Regions from separate parts of the Homo sapiens genome. Here region 1 is linked to region 2. Evidence: promoter capture Hi-C in 16 types of primary human blood cells and fetal thymus (Javierre and others, 2016). All regions are on one chromosome and are shown on one strand. The core of a region is centred on a gene start or on the middle of the fragment in contact, and the rest is flanking DNA. Distances in the headings are between cores, read along the strand shown. Region 1 overlaps ENTPD7 (ectonucleoside triphosphate diphosphohydrolase 7). Region 2 holds the start of CHUK (component of inhibitor of nuclear factor kappa B kinase complex).

Evidence for each region. Contacts are between HindIII fragments. The CHiCAGO score rates a contact against its expected background, and 5 or more counts as called.
Region 1: a contact is called between a fragment that was not itself captured here and the fragment with the promoter of CHUK in region 2, in 1 of 17 cell types (neutrophils). The highest score is 5.0, in neutrophils.

Annotation. Positions count from the first base shown.
Region 1 is chr10:99,666,904-99,672,593 of GRCh38, reverse strand. The region is part of intron 3 of ENTPD7 (ectonucleoside triphosphate diphosphohydrolase 7); the gene reads right to left. Among named protein-coding and RNA genes, the nearest start is that of ENTPD7, 10 kb to the right of the region's middle. The HindIII fragment of the contact is 5,646 bases long and covers 1,325-5,690 here.
Region 2 is chr10:100,228,081-100,233,886 of GRCh38, reverse strand. CHUK (component of inhibitor of nuclear factor kappa B kinase complex) reads left to right here and starts at 4,291. Exons shown (of 21, transcript NM_001278.5): 1 at 4,291-4,459. The coding sequence starts at 4,355. It overlaps CHUK-DT (CHUK divergent transcript), which reads right to left and starts at 4,227. Exons shown (of 4, transcript NR_186419.1): 1 at 4,163-4,227; 2 at 2,761-2,872; 3 at 444-656. CWF19L1 (CWF19 like cell cycle control factor 1) reads left to right here. Exons shown (of 14, transcript NM_018294.6): 14 at 516-1,589. The coding sequence ends at 660. RefSeq lists silencers at 2,982-3,244, 4,314-4,553 and an enhancer at 4,154-4,203. The HindIII fragment of the contact is 6,397 bases long and covers 3,309-5,806 here.

The DNA of each region.
Region 1 (5,690 bases), core at 2,898-5,397, 560 kb after region 2:
GTGGCTCATGGCTATAAGCCAGCACTTTGGGAGGCCAAGGTAGGTGGCTTGCTTGAGCTCAGGAGTTCAAGACCAGCCTGAGCAACATGGCGAAACCCCATCTCTACAAAGAATATAAAAATTAGTCGGGTGTGGTGGTGCTTGCCTTTGGTCTCAGCTGCTTGGGGGACTGAGGTGAGAGGATTGCTTAAGCCTGGGAGGTTGAGGCTGCAGTGAGCTATGATCACGCCACTGCACTCCAGCTTGAGTGACAAAGTGAGACCCTGTTTCCAAAAAAAAAAAAAAAGATCAAGTAACTGAATAAATGTGGGACAGACACAGTGGCTCATGCCTGTAATCCCAGCACTTTGGGAGGCCAAGGTGGAAGGACTGCTTGAGGTCAGGTGTTCAAGGCCAACCTGGGCAACATAGTGAGACCCCTGTCTCTAAAAATAAAAAAAGAAATTTAGCCAGGCACGGTGGCATGCACCTATAATCTCAGCTATTAGGAAGGCTGAGGCAGGAGGATGGCTTGAGTCACTCTATAAATAATAAAATAAACGTGAATAAATGCTTTCAATTTCACCATCAAAAATCTCTGAACTGTTCTATTGCACATAAGAACCTAATCATTTCATCTGTATATGCTAAAGAGCATTCTAACCAAAAGCAATGCTTCTCTTTGACTTGCTTTAATTAAACAGAATTGAAACACCTATGGAAGGCCAGTACCAAGCCAATTGCTGACACAGAACCTCTCATTCAGTTATTTCCAGATGGTAAAGGAACATGAAGGCACCACCTTTCAATAGCTACAAAAGACATTCTTCAGACAATAGTTCAACCAGACAAAATTTTACCCACTAATGAAGATAACAGTGAGGCTACCAAAAAGTGAACAATATTAAACATGAATGTGAAAAAGGAAAGGTATTAAACAGAACATTTAAGAACAGTTTACCACAGTGTCTTGTACACTATGTATACATGCTAGAAGTTCCTCTTACACAGTCACGCACTGCATAATGACGTTTCAGTCAACAGCAAACCACATGTACAACAGTGGTCCCATAAGATTATAATGGAACTGAAAAAATTCCTATTACTTAATGATGTCTTGATGATCCTGATCCTGTGCAGGCTTAGGCTAATGTGTGTGTTTCTGTTTTCATTTCTAACAAATAAGTTTTAAAAGGAAAAAAAACTTTAAGTTTTTAAAAATAGAAGAAAACTTATAGAATAAGAATACTATAAGGAAAATATTTCCCTATAGCTTTACAATATGTTTGTGTTTTAAGTTGTGTTAGTCCAAAACAGTCAAAAAGTTTTTAAAAATTTCAAAGCTTAGAAAGTGGAAAAGTTACAGTAAGTTAAGGTTAATTTATTATTGAAGAAAGAAAAAAATTTTTAAATAATTTTTAAATAAATTTAGTGTAGCCTAAATGTACAGTGTTTATAAATTCTACAGTAATGTCCGAGGCCTTCACACTCACCACTCACTCACTCTGAGAAACTTCCAGTTCTGTGAGCTCCATTGATGGTAAGTGCCCTATACAGGTGTACAATTTATTTTATTATTATTATTATTATTATTTTTGAGACAGGGTCTTGCTCTGTTGCCCAGGATGGAGTGCAGCGGAGCAATTACGACTCACTGAAGCCTTGGCCTCCTGGGCTCAAGTGATCCTCCCGCCTCCGCCACCCAAGTAGCTGGGGCTACAGGCATGGACCACCACACCCAGCTAATTTCTAAATTTTCTGTAGAGATGAGGTTTCACCATGTTATTACCTAGGCTGGTCTGGAACTCCTGGGCTCAAGAGATCTGCCCACTTCAGCCTCCCAAAGTACTGGGACTGCAGGCATGAGCCACCATACCAGACCCAATTTATCTTTGATACCATATTTTCACTGGACCTTTTCTATTTTTATATATGTTTAGATACACAAATACTTACCATTGTGTTGCAGTTGCCTATAGTATTCAGTGCAGCAACATGTGTACAGGCTTGTAGGCTAGGAGCGTATACACCACACAGCCTCAGTGTGTAGTAGGCTGTACCATCTAGGTTTGTGTAAGTATTCTATGATGTTTACACAATGATGAAATCACTTAATGATGCATTTATTAGAACATATCCCAATCATTATATAACACACGACTGTATGAAAAATTAATAAATTTTAACAATTACCCAGCATCCACAGCAGAAATTAAAACATGGTACACTTAGCACTGTCAACAGAACTCTGTGAAATGATGAAAATGTTCTCTATCTGCACTGTCCCATATATCCACATGTGGCCACTGAGCATTTGAAATGTGCCCAGTCCAAGTGAGGAACTGAATTTTGTTTCATTTAATCTTAATTAATTTAAATTTAATTAGCCACTTGTGGGTAGTGACTACCCTATTTGATACCACAGTGTAGACACTCGATAATTGTTGAATAAGTAAACAGATAAATGAATAAATGGATATAAGATATGTATTGAGTCTGAAGAAAATATTGGAGCATGTCTTATGTGGCACATGCCAGAAAAATAGTTGATTAAAACACACATCTCGGCCGGGCGCAGTGACTCACGCCTGTAATCCCAGCACTTTGGGAGGCCGAGGCGGGTGGATCATGAGGTCAGGAGATCAAGACCATCCTGGCTAACACGGTGAAACCCCGTCTCTACTAAAAATACAAAAAATTAGCTGGGCCTGGTGGCGGGTGCCTGTAGTCCCAGCTACTTGGGAGGCTGAGGCAGGAGAATGGCGTGAACCCGGGAGGCGGAGCTTGCAGTGAGCCGAGATCGCACCACTGCACTCCAGCCTGGACGACAGAGCAAGACTCTGTCTCAAAAAAAAAAAAAAAAAAAAAAAAAAACCACACATCTAACACAAGTATTATTCTCAAAAACAGCTCTGCTGTGCATGTGTAGGGTCAGGGGATATGTGGTAAATCTCTGCACCTTCAGCTCAAATGAGCTGTAAAACTAAAATGGCTCTAAAAAAAGTGTATTAAAAAAAACACAGTTTTGGATTCTATCCTTACTGACACCCCATCTCTCTAAATTTACTTTTTTTGTATCAAATAAATTCTAGTTTTGATGCAAACTTCCTACTCTCTCTTTCCAGAAGCAATATGGATACATGTTCACAATAAAGAAAAAAAATGTAAGTCTTTAGTTCTGGAACTACTGAGAGAAAACCCCCTGACAGGCTTCTAAAGTCCTGGTTAATATCCCCTGAAAAGTGATATGTTAAATTCCACCAATGCCTATAAAAAGTTCACATTGAAATATCTGTTTTCAATGCAAAAGTAATTAAAATATTTTAAACATTAACTGCTTTCATATATATTAAAATACAAAGATGCAATGTGCAAGAGAGACTATCATTTCTAATTAAAGCAATGCCTTATTTGTCAAGACCATAAAACAATGAATGGGCCTAGGACAGTGGCTCACATCTGTAATCCCAGCACTTTGCGAGGCCAAGGCAGGTGGATTGCTTGAGCCTAGGAGTTCATGACTACGCTTGGCAACATAGGGAGACACTGTCTCTACAAAAAAAAAAAAAAAAGATATATAAAATAAAATAAAGAATGCATGTAGTGTTCCTCTAGGCACATTTTCCTGATCAAAGGTTTGCAAACTTGCTCCCATGAAGACACGTGTAAGTGGGTTCCTGGAAGACAGCACACTTTCTGAGGGACACCACAAAGTACGGATATAATTTCACTGTGTGAATTAGGAACAATTTAAGTAGAAAAAATATGTCTATATATGAATATAATATAAAAAAATCACAACTACAGGCGCTTGTGTTAAAACTTTTTTAAGCTGTTAAATTAAGGTAGCAAGTGTTTCTACCAATTCCTAGTTACTTGCTTAATCATTTCATCAAAATTTTAAATAGAGATTATAACGCCCATTATCTTCAGTGTATATTTTCAGGCAGAGAAGAGAATTGGAAAACAGAAAAATCAAGATTATTTCAAATAATAGATTGACATTTGATTAGTCAATCAATGCACCTGACATTCCTAGATGCTCTACTCTTCTTATGCAAATGACAAGACTAAAAGACAGCTATTTTTATTCTCACTTTATATATAAAGAATATGAAATTCCAGGATATTAAGAAACCTGCCCAAGATTACCCAACTAGCAAATGATGGGCTGATTAACTCTAATATTAACATTCTTTCCCTTACCTCACAATACCTCCTTAAGTAAATGTAACCAAATCTTAAAGCAGTTTTTCTCAACCCAGGTGGTATATTAGATTCACCTTGAGAAGAGTCCCAATTATTTGCATTTTTCTAAAGGTCCCCAAGTGATTTAGATACACAAAGGTTGAAAACCTCTGATTTAAAATTATCATTAATGGCCAGGCATGGTGGCTCACGCCTGTAATCCCAGCACTTTGAGAGGCTGAGGTGGGTGGATCACATGAGGCCAGGAGTTTGAGACCAGCTTGGCAAACATGGTGAAACCCTGTCTCTACTAAAAATACAAAAATTAGCCGGGCATGGTGGTGCGCACCTGTAATCCCAGCTACTCGGGAGGCTAAGGCATGAGAATCGCTTGAACCTGGGAGGTGGAGGTTGAAGTGAGCTGAGATCATGCCACTGCACTCCAGCCTGGGCAACAGAGTGAGACTCTGTCTCAAAAAAAAAAAAAAAAAAAAAAAGATTATCATTTCATTAACATAAATTTTTAGACTATGTAATAAAACAGTTTTAACAACATATGTAGAACTGTTTACCACTATAGAAACTGTCTGTAGAAATTTTGAGTTATTGAGTCTATCTTTATTAAATTTCCTCTCTCCTGCTTCACTGTCAAGATGCCAGATATAACTGATTATTGTCATAATGTGCCCACATCTAACAACACACCCCACCCACCATTCCAATTTGCTGTTATCTACTGTGTTCTGAGACAAGTGAGAACCATGCAAATGAGAACAGTGTGTAAAATAAAAGCTAACAGGCTTTATGTGAGAGCCTATCTTATCAGTAAAGTACAGGTGCTTTTAGCACATGAACTTAGTGATATCAAATTTGGTTGCTCAAGAACTTCTTCTGTTTAATTTCTGATTCTTAGCTTTGTTCCTAATTCTTAACCTTGTACATAGTTCCTGATTCTTCACTCCTGATTCTATACAACCGTACCTAAACTATTATCTCACTGGGAAATAATTTTTCCTTTATGCCTGCCTCTCTAACTAGATTACGAACTCCTTGAGTTCAGGGGCTATGTTTAGTCATCTTTGTACTCCAGTGCTATCATAGAGTCATCGACACAGCAAACCCTCAATAAATGTTTGCCTCTTAAATGACTCATGGAGGCTGCCCTGAGTGAAGTTTAATGATAAATGGTCATTTGTGGCAATATATACAGAACCTTTCATTAAGTAACAATGAGCTCTGAGCCACAGCATTCCAGGGTGTTAGGACTTTGGTGAGGTCGCCACAGTGGCACAGTCTATGTGTTCCTCAGCTCTATTGCTAACTTGTTTCAATTAATTCAACCTACCAAGTATTTATTGGCTCTGACCACTTGGGATACAGTGATAGACAAGAATTATCAGATCACTCTGCCACCCACATACATTTAAATGCTTTTACCTCTCTCCATCCTCTTGCAACCACAACCATCTCTCTATTGAGGTACAGTCATTGACTTACAATGGTACAACTTATGATTTTTCAGC
Region 2 (5,806 bases), core at 3,042-5,541:
CATGTCTAGTTGAGGTGACAAAACTACAGTTTAAGGCAGGTTGTAATCACAGCTAATATGGCACTTTGACTGTGTTATCTCTGTACCTCACAAAAACCCTGTATGGTGGGTGTTCTTATTTGCATTTCATAGGTGAGGAAATCAAGACTCAGAGATGAAATCATCTGTCTAGATCATAGATAGCAAGTGGCAAAGCTGGAAATGGGATCCAGTCTCTGATCTTTCTCACACCAGGGCCTGCCCTTTTTCTATGTGGTGTTGCTTCTCTAAGTACCAATAATATAGTTCCAAGTTTTTTAAGAGAGGGAGAAGCAAGTGGGGTTTGAAGGATCAGGAAATATATAGTACCTGAGCTGGTCATTTAAAACGGGTATGATTTTGATCAATAGTATGGCAGAGATGGCACTCAGGGCAGGAGAGCAAAGTCAGAGAAATTTGCATACCTCCTTTGGGTGATGTTGAGGAGAGCTCAGGCTGATAGTTTCCATTTTGACTTCTTTGTGCTATTTCTGCAGGGAGGTCCTGGCCAGTGAAGCCATCCTTAATGTTCCTGATAAGTCTGACTGGAGGCAGTGTCAGATCAGCAAGGAAGACGAGGAGACCCTGGCTCGCCGCTTCCGGAAAGACTTTGAGCCCTATGACTTTACTCTGGATGACTAAAACAAAGGGAAGAACTTTTTATGAACTCCACAGGAAGTAGTAAAGCTTTTTTTTTTTTTTAATTAAAAGAATTTTTTTTGAGACAAAGTCTCGCTCTGTCACCCAAGCAGGATTGCAGTGGCATAACTGTGGCTCACTGTAGCCTCAACCTCCTGGGCTCTAGAGTTCCTCCCACCTCAGCCTCATGAGTAGCTGGGACCACAGGCGCATGCTACCATGCCTGGCAAACTTTTTTGATTTTTTATAGAGACAGGAGGGTCTCCCTGTGTTGCCCAGGCTGGTCTGTAATGCCTAGGCTCAAGGGATCCTCTGCCTTGGCTTCTTAACCTGCTGGGATTACAAGCATGAGACACCATTCCTGGCCTAGAAGCCTATTTTTAAAGAAACTACAATCTCCCATGGGGACTGTTTCCCTGCCTCTTTTGTGCAGTCCCATGGAACTTGCCTACAGCAAGAGGCCTAAGATTGAATCTTTTTGGGGAAAAGTCATTCTAGGATGAAAATCCTATGTTAAGGCCGGGCGCAGTGGCTCACGCCTGTAATCCCAGTACTTTGGGAAGCCGAGGCAGGTGGATCACCTGAGGTGAGGAGTTTGAGACCAGCCTGGCCAACATGGTGAAACCCCGTCTTTACTAAAGCTACAAAAATTAGCTGGGCGTGGTGCCAGGCACTTGTAATCCCAGCTACTCAGGAGGCTGAGGCAGGAGAATTGCTTGAGCCTGGGAGGTGGAGGTTGCAGTGAGCCAAGATCGCTCCATTGCACTCCAGCCTGGGTGACAGTGAAACTCCATCTCAAAAATAAAAGAATAAAAGTATGTCTGTCATCCAGCTCCTATGTCTGTTATCCAGCTCCAAGTACAGCTTGTGTATATCAACATTTTCAAAAACCTTTAAACTACCAAATGAAATCCAGATGTTTTTCCATGGTTGAGAAGTGTCTTGTGTTCATGTTGCCTGTGACCGTTGAAATGAAGTAGTATGTGTAATAGCAGGGGCTAGAGCTTTAGGCCCAGCTGTTACTCCAAAATCACACAGGGCAGTTTCTCCCTGAACAACCCAAAGTGGAAAAGGGATCCAAGGCTTTTGCTATTTTTCTCTTAAGCATTCATCTTATTCATAGATAAGAGCCCATTTAGTCCTTCGGATATTTAACTCCTATGTGCCAGGCATTTTTCTAAGCTCCAGGACCATAGTCATGTCCCAATATGGTCCCTGTTGTCCCAGAGATTACAGTTTAATGGGGAATAGAAGGGACAGATTTAAGAAAAAAAAGATAATTCTCCTTTGGATATTGTTTTAGGTGCTTGATATATCTAATATGTGTCTGTTGTGCTGCTGGGCAGTTCTAAACTCATCAGTACCTGGGTTGGTTACAGGGCTTTGGGGATCATCAGGGTATAGGCCATAGGTGAAATTAAGATAGGGTAAATACAGTCCTGAGCTGAAGATGATTACCTGAGAAATATCAGTATTTAAGGAGTGCTTGAAAATAGTGATCTAACATTTACATAGAGAAGGAGCAAAGAGAATGCTACATATTAGGCGCAAAAAGAAAAATATTTTTACCTTTATATTGGGCACTTATGGTCCAGACACTGTTTCATTTAATCTTCACAAAATCTCTGTGAGGTAGGTATTACCTCTATTTTACTCATGAAAAAAAAACTGAGACTCGGAAAATTGAAGATTGTGGAGCCTGGGGTCAACAGGCTTAGGCTTTTTAAAAAACAGGCCAGGTGGCTCATGCCTGTGATTGCAGCACTTTGGGAGGCTGAGGCAGGCAGATGACCTGAGATCAGGAGTTTGAGACCAGCCTAGCCAACACGGTGAAACCCCGTCTCTACTAAAAATGCAAAAAATTAGCTGGGCGTGGTTGCATGCGCCTGTAATGCCAGCTACTCGGGAGGCTGAGGCAGTAGAATTGCTTGAACCCTGGAGGTGGAGGTTGCAGTGAGCTGAGATCACACCATTGCACTCCAGCCTGGGTGACAAGAGTGAAACTCCATCTCAAACAATAACAACAACAACAACAAAAAACAACTCAAATTACTCATGGCCCTGGGAATGGGGGCATTTAAAAAGTTAACCAAGGGAACCAACCTGGTTTCCACAAAGATGGCCACTTCTGGGTCAGCCCAATCATCAGTATCCCTGGGTCCTCAGCATCCCTTCCTACCTCTTTTGACTGGGAATTACGAGATTACAGCCCCACCTACGGAAATTGAGCACATTAGCACTGGCCATGCTGTACATACAGCAAATGAGAGGGCTTCATACTGTTACAACAATCTGTACCACAATTCTCTGTGCGGTCTGCCCAGCTCTAAATGACATGTCCTCAGAGGCATCATCATCTCCAAGTCCATGGAAACCATGCACTTACAGAAACCAGAACCTCCCATACCACATGTTACTAATGACCTACAACATCGACTTCGTCTGTATCATGCAGTGCTCAACATTCTGGTTGCAGCATCACATTTATCAATAATTTGATTCCATGCTGATTCCTTTACTTGGAGTATTGAGATCCCCCAGGTACAGTGAAGGTATGACCCTCTTAAATGGAAGACCAGGAGTTGTTTCCCCTATGCTATGGCAATCCGCCACCCGGAAGCACTTGCTGCACCAACAGCATTCCCAAAGCTTGCCTCTGCAGCCCTGTAGCACCCATTAGAAACACTTCTCACAATGAACTACTGTGCTGGCAAACCCATAACTGGACTGCCGGACAGCAAGCTCTGTGAGGCATCTAGGAAAAAAGCTCGCGAAATCCCGAGAAACACTCTTCACTCCGGAATAGCGTCACATTCTTGAGTCATTTGGGATGACAGGGGATATCCTGGAGCAGGTGTATTGGGAAGTCAGTGAACAAGAAGGCTAATTCATTAGTGGGCCTGCTAGCGTAGTATTTTAACGATTTCGCAGCCTTTAAATCATTGGTGGTCTTTAGCGTGCCGGATCAGCTGGTGGTGGAGTTGGAGGATAGATGGCAGGGATCTGAAGAAAGGTGAAGTGTAGATAGGAGTAGAGACAATATGAAGTTTAGAAAAGACTAATTGCTGGACGCGGTGGCTCATGTCTATAATCCCAGCACTCTGGGATGCCAAGGTGGGAGGACTACTTGAGACCAGGAGTTCGGGACCAGCCTGGGCAACGTAGCAAGACCATGTCTCTACAAAAAATAAAAAATTAGCCAAGCGAGGTGGTGCGCGCCTGCAATCCCAGCTACTCGGGAGGTGAGAAGATCGCTTAATTCCGGGAGGTCGAGGCTGCAGTGAGCCGTGATCGTGCCATTGCACTCCAGCCTGGGCAACGGAGCGAGACCCCATCTTAATTAAAAAGAAAAAAATACAGGAGAGACTGGGCTGCTTTGAAAAGTGGATTTGACGGGAATGTGGGGTTTGGAGAGATCTTATGTTTTCCAAGACTAGAAAAACATTGTGGTTCCGTTCAGCCCTCCCGGAAAATACGTAGGGGACTTAAAGAGCGGACCGAGTACCTGTTTGTTTCCCCATCCCTTAGCCGGCAGGGCTCTGGCAGCGCCCTGGGAGAACTTAGGGAAGGGCCTTCTCGCAGCGGTTACCGGAAGTGACGCATTCATTCTCGCGAGAACAAAGACGCGCGAGCATCGGCGGCCCGGAACCGGCCTTGGAACAACTGTGGAACCTGAGGCCGCTTGCCCTCCCGCCCCATGGAGCGGCCCCCGGGGCTGCGGCCGGGCGCGGGCGGGCCCTGGGAGATGCGGGAGCGGCTGGGCACCGGCGGCTTCGGGAACGTCTGTCTGTACCAGCATCGGGTGAGGCGGGGCGTGAGAGGGAGCGGCGGTGGGTTGGAGCGGCGGTGGGTTTGAGCGTCTGTGGAACACAGGGCTGACAGTGTGGGATAGATGGTTGGTGGGACCTTGGGCAGTATTTGGGGGCCAGTGGGCTTGTGTGTGTGTATTAGAGAGAAAGATACTATGCCTGTGTGTCCAAAGTTGTATTTGAGGTACTGGGCATAGATAGAGCTGTTGCGGGGAACTTGGGTATGACTGTCAGGCTGTGACCAGGTGTTTAGTGAGTGTGACAGTGCGTGTGTGTCTCTGTGAATGTGGAGTGTCAGGGTGTGTGAGGCAGATGCACGTCACAGTGTGTATGTAGGAGCACGAATGTGTGAGAAGAGGGCTGAAGGGGACTGCCTTTGGGAATGTGTGCGTCCGTGTGTGTGTGTGTGTGTGTGTGTGTGTGTGTGCGCGCGCGCGCGCGCGCTTGGAGGCCATATGATATCAGTGGGGACTGGAGTAGACAAGGAAGGCTTCATGATGGGTCCAGAGTTAAGCCTTTGGAAGCATGGATGGGCTTTGGAATTGGGGATGTATTCCAGGTCGGGACAGTATGAGGGTGAGTTGGTGCAGAGCATGGCTTCAAACGAAAGGCTATATTAGTAGATGGAGATGGGGGGCGCTCTAGTAGGTGGAGGACAGTTAACATCAGACTCAAGAATTTTACTTTGATTTAATAGAGAATGTTTAACCATTGTAGTAGCAGTTAAAAAATCATATTTGGGTCTTGTTTGTTTGTTTTTGTTTTTGAGACGGAGTCTCACTCTGTCGCCCAGGCTGGAATGCAGGGCGCGATCTCGGCTCACTGCAGCCTCCTCCTCCCGAGTTCAAGCGATTCTCCTGCCACAGCCTCCTGAGTAGCTGGGATTACAGGCGCCCGCCACCGTGCCTGGCTAATTTTTTTGTATTTTTAGTAGAGACGGGGTTTCACCATGTTGGCCAGGCTGGTCTCGAACTCCTGACCTCAGGCGATCCACCTGTCTCAGGCTCCCAAAGTGCAGAGATTATAGGCGTGAGCCACGGCACCAGGCCTGGGACATGTATTTTTTGATATACCGATAAAAGCTGTGAACCCTTTCCCCAGAAAAATGCACAGATGCACATTCACACAACCATGCATTGCCATTTGAGAGGTTCGTGCCTTCCTAAAGGACATTTTAGGTAAATAGACCCTGGACTAATAATTCCTGTAATATAGGCTTTGTTTTGTTGCCTGTAAAGTAAGTATAGTATAATAATTACATGCATCATGGATTTGAGAGTTAAATAAAATAGTAATGTGTGTAAAGCTAAATACGGTACCTGACCCATGAAAGCCCTCAA